Linked DNA regions of Homo sapiens: regions 1 and 2 are each linked to region 3. Evidence: promoter capture Hi-C in 16 types of primary human blood cells and fetal thymus (Javierre and others, 2016). All regions are on one chromosome and are shown on one strand. The core of a region is centred on a gene start or on the middle of the fragment in contact, and the rest is flanking DNA. Distances in the headings are between cores, read along the strand shown. Region 1 overlaps PPP2R5E (protein phosphatase 2 regulatory subunit B'epsilon). Region 2 overlaps PPP2R5E (protein phosphatase 2 regulatory subunit B'epsilon). Region 3 holds the start of SGPP1 (sphingosine-1-phosphate phosphatase 1).

Region 1 (2,700 bases), core at 45-2,544, 290 kb before region 3:
ACTCCTGACCCTCCTCACCATGACCCCACCAGCTGTCCCTCTCCACTACTTGGCCAACCCTCACCTCTCTCTACTCATCACAGAAATGGCATTTCTACTCTATAGTCTAGTGTCTTTGCACCATTTTTCAGAGGCAACTTGCTCCTGAGAAGTCACTGAATAGCATATTTCTTCTTGTTTTCCTACAGATCAAGTTTGGCTTTAAATACTGGTCAGCAGCCAACTGCCTCCTGGAAATGACCTGCTCATTGTCTGCTTGCCAGATTCTTGCCTCAGGCACTCCTGTCTCTGTGAATTCCACATTGAGGACACTCATTTTCTCAGCTTTTTCCTGCTCATCATGCACCACTGTGGTGTAACCAGCTTCCTCCAAACAATCAGCCAATAAATCCCTCTCTTTCATTTCTGTGTCTCCTCAGTAGAGAGACAGCCAAATCATACAAACTAACACCAAGAGCTGGGATTATCCAAGACCCACTTGCACATGCCACAAGCAAGATTTCACACTTTGTCATCCATGTGCTTAATAGATTTCCCAGAAGCATTGCTTATACCTTTAAACCACATTTTCAGCTTCAAGGTTAAATTAAAAGGTGGGAGAAAAGAGAAACCAAAACTTGAATGCAGTACTGTAACTTATCCTGCAAAATTCTGCTGCCAGCCACTGGGGGGAGGGGTAGAGACAGGGGGAGTATACTCATTACAGTGAGATATTATTGGATATATCAGTGCTAGACAAGTCACAGCTGTCAAACAATTTTAAGTATATTAAAAACTCTGAACAACCTTTAAAGCAGTTAAGCCAGAAGGACTACAGCTTGTAAATGAAGCAAATAGCAATCTCGAGTAGCTCAGTGGCTTCCTGAGTAAAAACCCTCTCTTTAGCACATTTAAATTAAAACTAAACACTTTAAAATCCTTGTCAGATTCCTTAAGAGAGAATGATTGCGGAGAGAAATGCTAAATTATTACTAGAGTTGGGGACGTGAATATGCAAGTATATCAGGAATTCATTTAGATGAACTTAGGGCAGTATATATATAAATGTATATATAACTATAAACACAGGGGCATATGCAGTTTCACAGGCAGTTCTCCCAAAAAAAAAAGGTATGAAAATAAAACTTCATAGAGAGTTTGAAATCAATAGTCAGACAAAAGATATGGAAAGTCATCTGAAAAAGACAAAAAAAAGCTTTCAGGTTAGCAAGACTTCATTGTAACCAGAAAAATGTATTAACCAATATAGACAGGTTAAGTCTACTGGGGTGCTAGAGATGGTACCATGAATAATGATAATAATGATATGGTGACTTTAACAATGCTTACCACAGTGCTAAGCACTGTTCATAAATTAATTTTCAAAACAACCTTATAGAGTTATAGTATAATAACAAGCTTAGAGGGATGAGACTCACCTGGGATCACATAGTTCAGTAAGTGGCCAGACTGGGTCCTGGTCTGTTTTTTTTTTTTGTTTTTGTTTTTGTTTCTGTTTTTTGAGACGGAGTTTTGCTCTTGTTGCCCAGGCTAGAGTGCAATGGCACGATCTCGGCTCACAACAACCTCCACCTCCCAGGTTCAAGCCATTCTCCTGCCTCAGCCTCCACAGTAGCTGGGATTACAGGCATGCGCCACCAGGCCTGGCTAATTTTGTATTTTTAGTAGAGACGGGGTTTCTCCGTGTTGGTCAGGCTGGTCTCGAACTCCGGACCTCAGGTGATCCACCCTCCTCGGCCTCCCAAAGTGCTGGGATTACAGGCGTGAGCCACCGCGCCCAGCCGGGTTCTGGTCTGTTTGTCTATGCCACTGACCCAGGAAGGACAGTAAAAAGGAAAAGCAGGCTGTACACACATAAGTGCTTCCAAGGATTAGGATGTCCATCATGGAGATGGAGGGATGTTTGAATCATCTAATTAACTCCCCTTGCTCTGAATTCAGGCTAACCAACCAACCTAAGGATTCCTTGGCAGCTCGCATAGCTTGCCTGCAGGGAGAGAAGGCACAGTTCAAATACACACAAACAGCTATCCACTGAGCAGTGCCCTTCTCACTCTGAATTCATACACTGGCACTTTCAATTTCCATATACGTTTTCTGTGGGTCCTACCAATTCAACACAAACAGGGCTGCAAGGTGGGGCCCCTCTATGATGCACAGGTAAGGTATCGCCACGCCAATGTTACCACATAAGGAGCACCAACGGGCAGAGGAGCCTGATTTTTGGAACTTCTAAGGGTGGGGCAGAGAGAGAAGTGGAGTGGGAAAGCACATGAACTCAGGGGACTGCTATCTGGGTGGAAGAGAGAGAGGGGTGTTCTGAAATACACGGCCTTCCTCCTGGGCTCCTCCTCACCTCCTCAATCACTATTTACTTTTCCAGACTGGGAATAAGTGGTAGGGTAGAGAGAAAAATTGAGAAGCAGCGTTAACAATTCAAGAATAACACAAAGGGAGTGTAAAGCTACTATATAGGGCAGCAGAAGTGGTAGGAGAGAGGGAGTGAAGAAGAAACTGTTCTTAAGCAAAAAAAAAAAAAATGAACATTTAACCCCAGAGCATACTATGTGGTCTGGCCTTGTCAGAAGCAGCAAAATACAGGGAAGGGCTTAAATCAAAGGCTTTTTTACTTTTTTAGAAGAGCTCAAGAAACAAACATAGCACAGAGGCAAGACTCCAACTTTTAGGGGTTTTAGACCT
Region 2 (2,700 bases), core at 110-2,609, 350 kb before region 3:
TCATGAGGTCAGGAGATCGAGACCATCCTGACTAGCACAGTGAAACCCTGTCTCTAGTAAAAATACAAAAAATTAGCCAGGCGTGGTGGCGGGTGCTTGTAGTCCCAGCTACTTAGGAGGCTGAGGCAGGAGAATGGCATGAACCTGGGAGGCGGAGCTTGCAGTGAGCTGAGATCGCGCCACTGCACTCCAGCCTGGGCAACAGAGCAAGACTCCATCTCAAAAAACAAAAAAAAAAAAGTTGTTTAAACTGTGAGTATGGAATAACATATCCCATAATTGATAATAATCCCAATATTCTGGGTAAAAAATCCCAGCCTCTTCTGAGATTCTCAGCTAAATACTCACCACATTCCATAATTAAGTTGGTTTTCATAAACCACATCCCTGGTAACTTAAAACAAAAAAATCATTGCAATGGTCCCTCTGCCATCAAACCTTTCCCCTCATTGCTCTTTTTATCAATAAAATGCAAGTTGACAGACTAAAAATGAGACAAAGCAAAGCACCAAGGGAACCAGAGAGGTTCAGCAAGACCCTGGGTATGAACACTCGCACACATCTCTGGGTCCTCTAAGGTCCATAGCTTTATGATATACAAAGCTGACATCTGCTTATGGATGATCAAAGCCAAACCACAGGCGCAACTACTAAGAGCTCTCTAGACTTCTATAATCTCCCCAAGTACATCTTTTGGAAAGTAGAATGCATTGGACAAGATTTTTACTAAGCCATAAGCATTTATTGCAAAGAGTTCCACTGGTTTGTTCTCCCATATGGTCTCAAACATTTCTGGTTAATACCAGACTATTAACCTTCATGTTCTTTTCACTGATCTTTAAATTGTAATAAATTTGTTGGGTTCTAGTAAGTCCTGGGCCCAAGAGCTAGATAAATGGTGCCTCATTCCCCCTGCTATTGGAGTGAAGTACAAGATCTGCCCAATTATACTTCAAGTAAGTTCAGAGTGGGAGTGAATCCCAGAGAGCAAACTACCTGATGGTCCCTTTAAGTGAACCTAAAATACCAGTTAAATGCTGGGCTCTTAACCCTGAGGCAGAAGTGAAATATTATTAAAGAAAGGAAAGAAAGCGGGCTTTATCAAAATGAGTGTCAGGAAGCTTTGTTACTCAGTGGCACAGTAATAAATAAATAAAGACACAGTTAATAAGTGTGCAAAAATGAATATATAAATACAGTCATGTGCCAAATAACAACATTTCGGTCAACACAGACCACATATACCACGGTGGTCCCATAAAATTTTAACAGGGTTGAAAAAGGCCTACTGCCTAGTGATTTGTGTTACAATTGGCTACGGTATTCACCACAGGTTTGTAGCCTGGGAAGAACAGGCAATACTACATAGTTCAGGTGTGTCATAGTAGGCTACACCATCTAGGTTTGTGTAATTACTGTATACTTATGATGTTCACACAATACAATTGCCTAAGGATGCATTTCTCAGAACATATACTGGTTGTTAAGTAATGCATGACTGTAAACAAAATTGTGCTGCTTAAGATTTGGGGTACAATTAGGCAACTTCAGCAAAGAGCAAGGAAAAAACTCAATAGCTTTATGCACAGCTGACAAAAAAGCTTTAAAAAGTTACCGCTGACGATCTGACTTGTATGTGGCTGTCAGCTCGTCAAACATGGTGCTGTTCATTTCCATAAATGCCTTCAACACATTGTACACCAACGCCACAATAGCCCTGGAAAGCACAGAAAAAAAGGAGTGTGTTAGTTAGTCTTATAAAATGGGATACTGAATGAAGAAAGCAAAAGCACAACTTTTGTCTGAATGATTTCTCGTACTGCACACTGTCTGTATCCTTTTTTAGTTGGAACAACTGAAAATGACCTACAGTTCATTTCCACATCAAGAGATTTCAAGGCAAGATAATTTTCTGAGGGGTGGTAGAACTAGAAAAAAAATCTAACTTTGCCCTTCTAATTTCTTTTTTTTTTTTTTTGCAACGGAGTTTCGCTCTTGTTGCCCAGGCTGGAGTGCAATGGCACCATCTTGGCTCACCGCAACCTCCGCCTCTTGGGTTCAAGCAATTCTCCTGCCTCAGTCTCCTGGGTAGCTGGGATTACAGAAGCGAGCCACCACACCTGGCTAATTTTGTATTTTTAGTAGAGACGAGGTTTCTCCATGTTGGTCAGGCTGGTCTCGAACTCCCAACCTCAGGTGATCTGCCTGCCTCGGCCTCCCAAAGTGCTGGGATTATAGGCGTGAGCCACCACACCTGGCCTGCCCTTCTAATTATTGGCACCCAGAATAGAGCTGCCTGTGGGCATTTGATAATTTCATTTAATAAAAAGGCAAGTATAATAGTAAAGCAATTTCACCCTAAAATAAGGATCTGTGATAGCACTAACCTTAGACATCTGAATTTGCATAGAATTCTATTTTCTAAATAACACATAATTCATCAAAATCAGAAGCTACTTCCCTAGAAACAAATGTTATATATATATGTGTATATATATAAATTATTCTTATCCAAAGAAATGAAATCAAGCCCTCATGTAGGTTGGGTGGTTCAATATGAATTATCTGTCTAGCTCTGATCTGCACCAGTCCTGCTGACCCAAAATATATGCTGATAACTGGCAAGCTGGGATGGTTGCTATTAGCTATGGGACACTATACAGCTAAACAGCCAAAATGGTAGCCCATACTTAACAAGAA
Region 3 (2,700 bases), core at 69-2,568:
TCGATTACTTCATTGCTTGGAACTAGCATGTTTGTTTTGGAATTACACTAACGTTTTGTAAACACTGTCTCACGGTAAAGCTAATGACTTTACCTCTTTCTGAAACAGTTTTAGGGAAGAAGGCACCATATATTACGGTGAAACTGGGTCTTAGTTTACATAGCGATTATTTAAAAAATTCACTTCCACTGTGCATTACAAGAATTAAAGCCGTTTAAAAAACTCAACCAAAGCCCAATGACAATGTATTACTCTAGGAAAAGTGTGTCCTTTGGGTTCTAAGGCATTAAATTGGAATTTAATATTAAAATAGAATTCAACGGCTAAGTATCCAGTTTCCCCCAATCACTTAATTTTTCAAAACCCAGAAAGGGCCTGTTTGCGAGTATTGTGAAAACCTGTGGAAAGAGAGGCTTTGGAGGGGAACGGTCGAATTAAAATAAATGCAGAGAGCAAAGAGAACTCCGAGTTCTTTGAACTCCCCCAGGCTGAACAGGACGAGAAGGAACCCTACCTGCCAGCGGCCATAGGTGAGGAGGACCATAGAAATGGGGATGGCGGTGCCGGACATGGCATGGGTGGAGGGCATGCTGTACTCAGAGTTGTAGAAGACCTCCAACTTGACCACGGGCGGCGAGGCGGGCCTCGGCCAGCGGATGATGTCCTTGGTGCACTGGCCCAGGTACATGACCAGCACCCAGATGACCACGAGCCTCCGGCCCACCAGAGGGTCCAGGTTCCAGATCCAGAAGGGGAAGAACAGGATGTAGAAGAGTTCGTTGCCCAGCTCCGTGCCGAAGCAGAACAGGCAGTAGAGCGGCCAGTTGCTCACGCGGGCCAGCTGGCCCTCCTCGCCCGTCAGCGAGTTGCGGCGCAGAGCGCCCGCGCGCCGCGGCGAGGCCGGGCCCAGCTCGGCCGCCAGCCCGTTCCGCACGCCGTTGGGGGCGCCGCCGCCGTCCGGCTTGGCCGGGCACTGATTGCGGTCGCTCCCGGGAGGCTGGGGGCCTCCAGGCGCCCCTGGCTGCCGCCCTCGCAGTCGAGGGTCTCCGGCGAGAGGCGCCTCCGCTTTCTCATCCTCCCTCCGGTCTGCTGAGCGGCGCGGCGGCGCTTCCACCCCGCACAGCCGCTGGAAACGGGCCACTTTCTGCGGGTCCTGCAGACGGCCAACCAGCTGGGCCAGGCGCTGCCTCAGCGACATGATAACGGAACCCCCGGGAAGGCGGGCCGGCCTCCGGCGCAGCCCCGAACTGTCCCCGCGCTCCTGGCCAGCGGCAGCGGAACCGGCACAGCGCTCTACCCTCCGGAGTCTGCCGGGTGACGGCGCCACAGGCCGCGCGCCCCCGCCCCGCGCGCGCCGCGCCCCGCCCCGCCCAGCCCCGCCCCCACCCGGGCTCCCTGAGGGGCCGGGCCGCGCGGGTCCGCCCTGAGCGCATCCGGCCGTGGCTTGGCGCTGAGGATCGGCGGGCGGCCGCTTTGAGGTCCCGGGTAATATCCACCAGCAGGCGTCGCGGCGTACGTCTGGTGGGACGCGGCGTGTCCCCCTGCTCCACCTTCAGCCCTTCTTCTCCGCGGGCTAGTGTCGCCGGATTCCCTCAGCCAGAAGTTGACTTAAAGAGGCCACGATCCCGGTGCCAGCTTGCGCAATGCCTGTGACCAAGCAGCCGGGCATCCTGCTGGCACAGAACCAAATGGTGAATGATCAATGAAGGCGAAGCAACTACCATGAGTTCGGAATCATTCGACTCAAGTAATTAACAAGTAATTACAGAGCTGTCCCAGGCGACTGATGTTCGGAAAACCATGTGCCAATTGACCAGTGGTGACAAGACTACATGTAGATCCCAAGACAGGGCCAGGTGATATTAACAGGTGTGGTCTGCAAAAGAAAAGCCAGCCACCTACAAATTCAAAATACTGTGTCATTTATCAAATATTTTGGTATATGTTAAGGGAGCACAGGTGTTCTTAAGTGTAAAATTTCCTTTTCCTAGATTCTAATACCTAGAGGGCTTGCACAGAATAAATGTAGAGAATGAATGCAGTGTATAGATTTTTGAGTTTGGTAACGTTAATTTAGACGCTTAACTTCCGTGTCTCACAAGTTACCAACTTGACTTCTAGCTAGAGCAGTTTATAAGGTCTCTGAACTCCTCAGGTCAGGTGAATGTCTTTTATATATACCTAGAGAGAGAGAGATGAGACAGGGTCTCGCTATATTGCCCAGGCTGGTCTCCAACTCCTGGGCTGAAGTGATTCTCCTGCCTTGGCCTCTCAAAGTGCTGTGTTTACAGGCGTGAGCCACCACACCCGCCATGATCAGGTGAATGTCTGTAATTAAAGAATGTGAACTACTTCCAAGAAACAGGCTTGAAATTGTCCCATGCCCTTAAAACAGTAGAAATACTTTCCTTCAGGCGTGGTAGTTCATGCCTATAATCTCAGCACTTTGGGAGGTCGAGGAGGGAGGATGGCTTGAGTCCAGGAGTTTGACAACAGCCTGGGCAACATAGGGAGATCCCACCTCTACAAAAAATGAACAAAATTAGCCGGGCAGGGCTGGGCACAGTGGCTCACGCCTGTAACCCCAACACTTTGGGAGGCCAAGGCGGGCGGATCACCTGAGGTCGGGAGTTCAAGACCGGCCTGACCCACATGGAGAAACCCCGTCTCCACTAAAAATACAAAATTAGCCGGGCGGGG

What was found. Contacts are between HindIII fragments. The CHiCAGO score rates a contact against its expected background, and 5 or more counts as called.
Region 1: a contact is called between a fragment that was not itself captured here and the fragment with the promoter of SGPP1 in region 3, in 2 of 17 cell types (fetal thymus and megakaryocytes). The highest score is 5.7, in fetal thymus.
Region 2: a fragment that was not itself captured here is called in contact with the fragment with the promoter of SGPP1 in region 3 in 1 of 17 cell types (megakaryocytes); the score reaches 5.5 in megakaryocytes.

What each region holds. Positions count from the first base shown.
Region 1 is chr14:63,437,891-63,440,590 of GRCh38, forward strand. All of the region lies in intron 3 of PPP2R5E (protein phosphatase 2 regulatory subunit B'epsilon), which reads right to left. Among named protein-coding and RNA genes, the nearest start is that of PPP2R5E, 100 kb to the right of the region's middle. RefSeq lists a silencer at 121-415. The HindIII fragment of the contact is 203 bases long and covers 1,194-1,396 here.
Region 2 is chr14:63,380,441-63,383,140 of GRCh38, forward strand. PPP2R5E (protein phosphatase 2 regulatory subunit B'epsilon) reads right to left here. Exons shown (of 14, transcript NM_006246.5): 13 at 1,616-1,717. Among named protein-coding and RNA genes, the nearest start is that of GPHB5, 63 kb to the left of the region's middle. The HindIII fragment of the contact is 480 bases long and covers 1,120-1,599 here.
Region 3 is chr14:63,726,747-63,729,446 of GRCh38, forward strand. SGPP1 (sphingosine-1-phosphate phosphatase 1) reads right to left here and starts at 1,319. Exons shown (of 3, transcript NM_030791.4): 1 at 515-1,319. The coding sequence starts at 1,198. RefSeq lists enhancers at 465-966, 611-660, 1,621-1,810 and silencers at 921-1,020, 1,311-1,410. The HindIII fragment of the contact is 15,620 bases long and covers 1-2,700 here.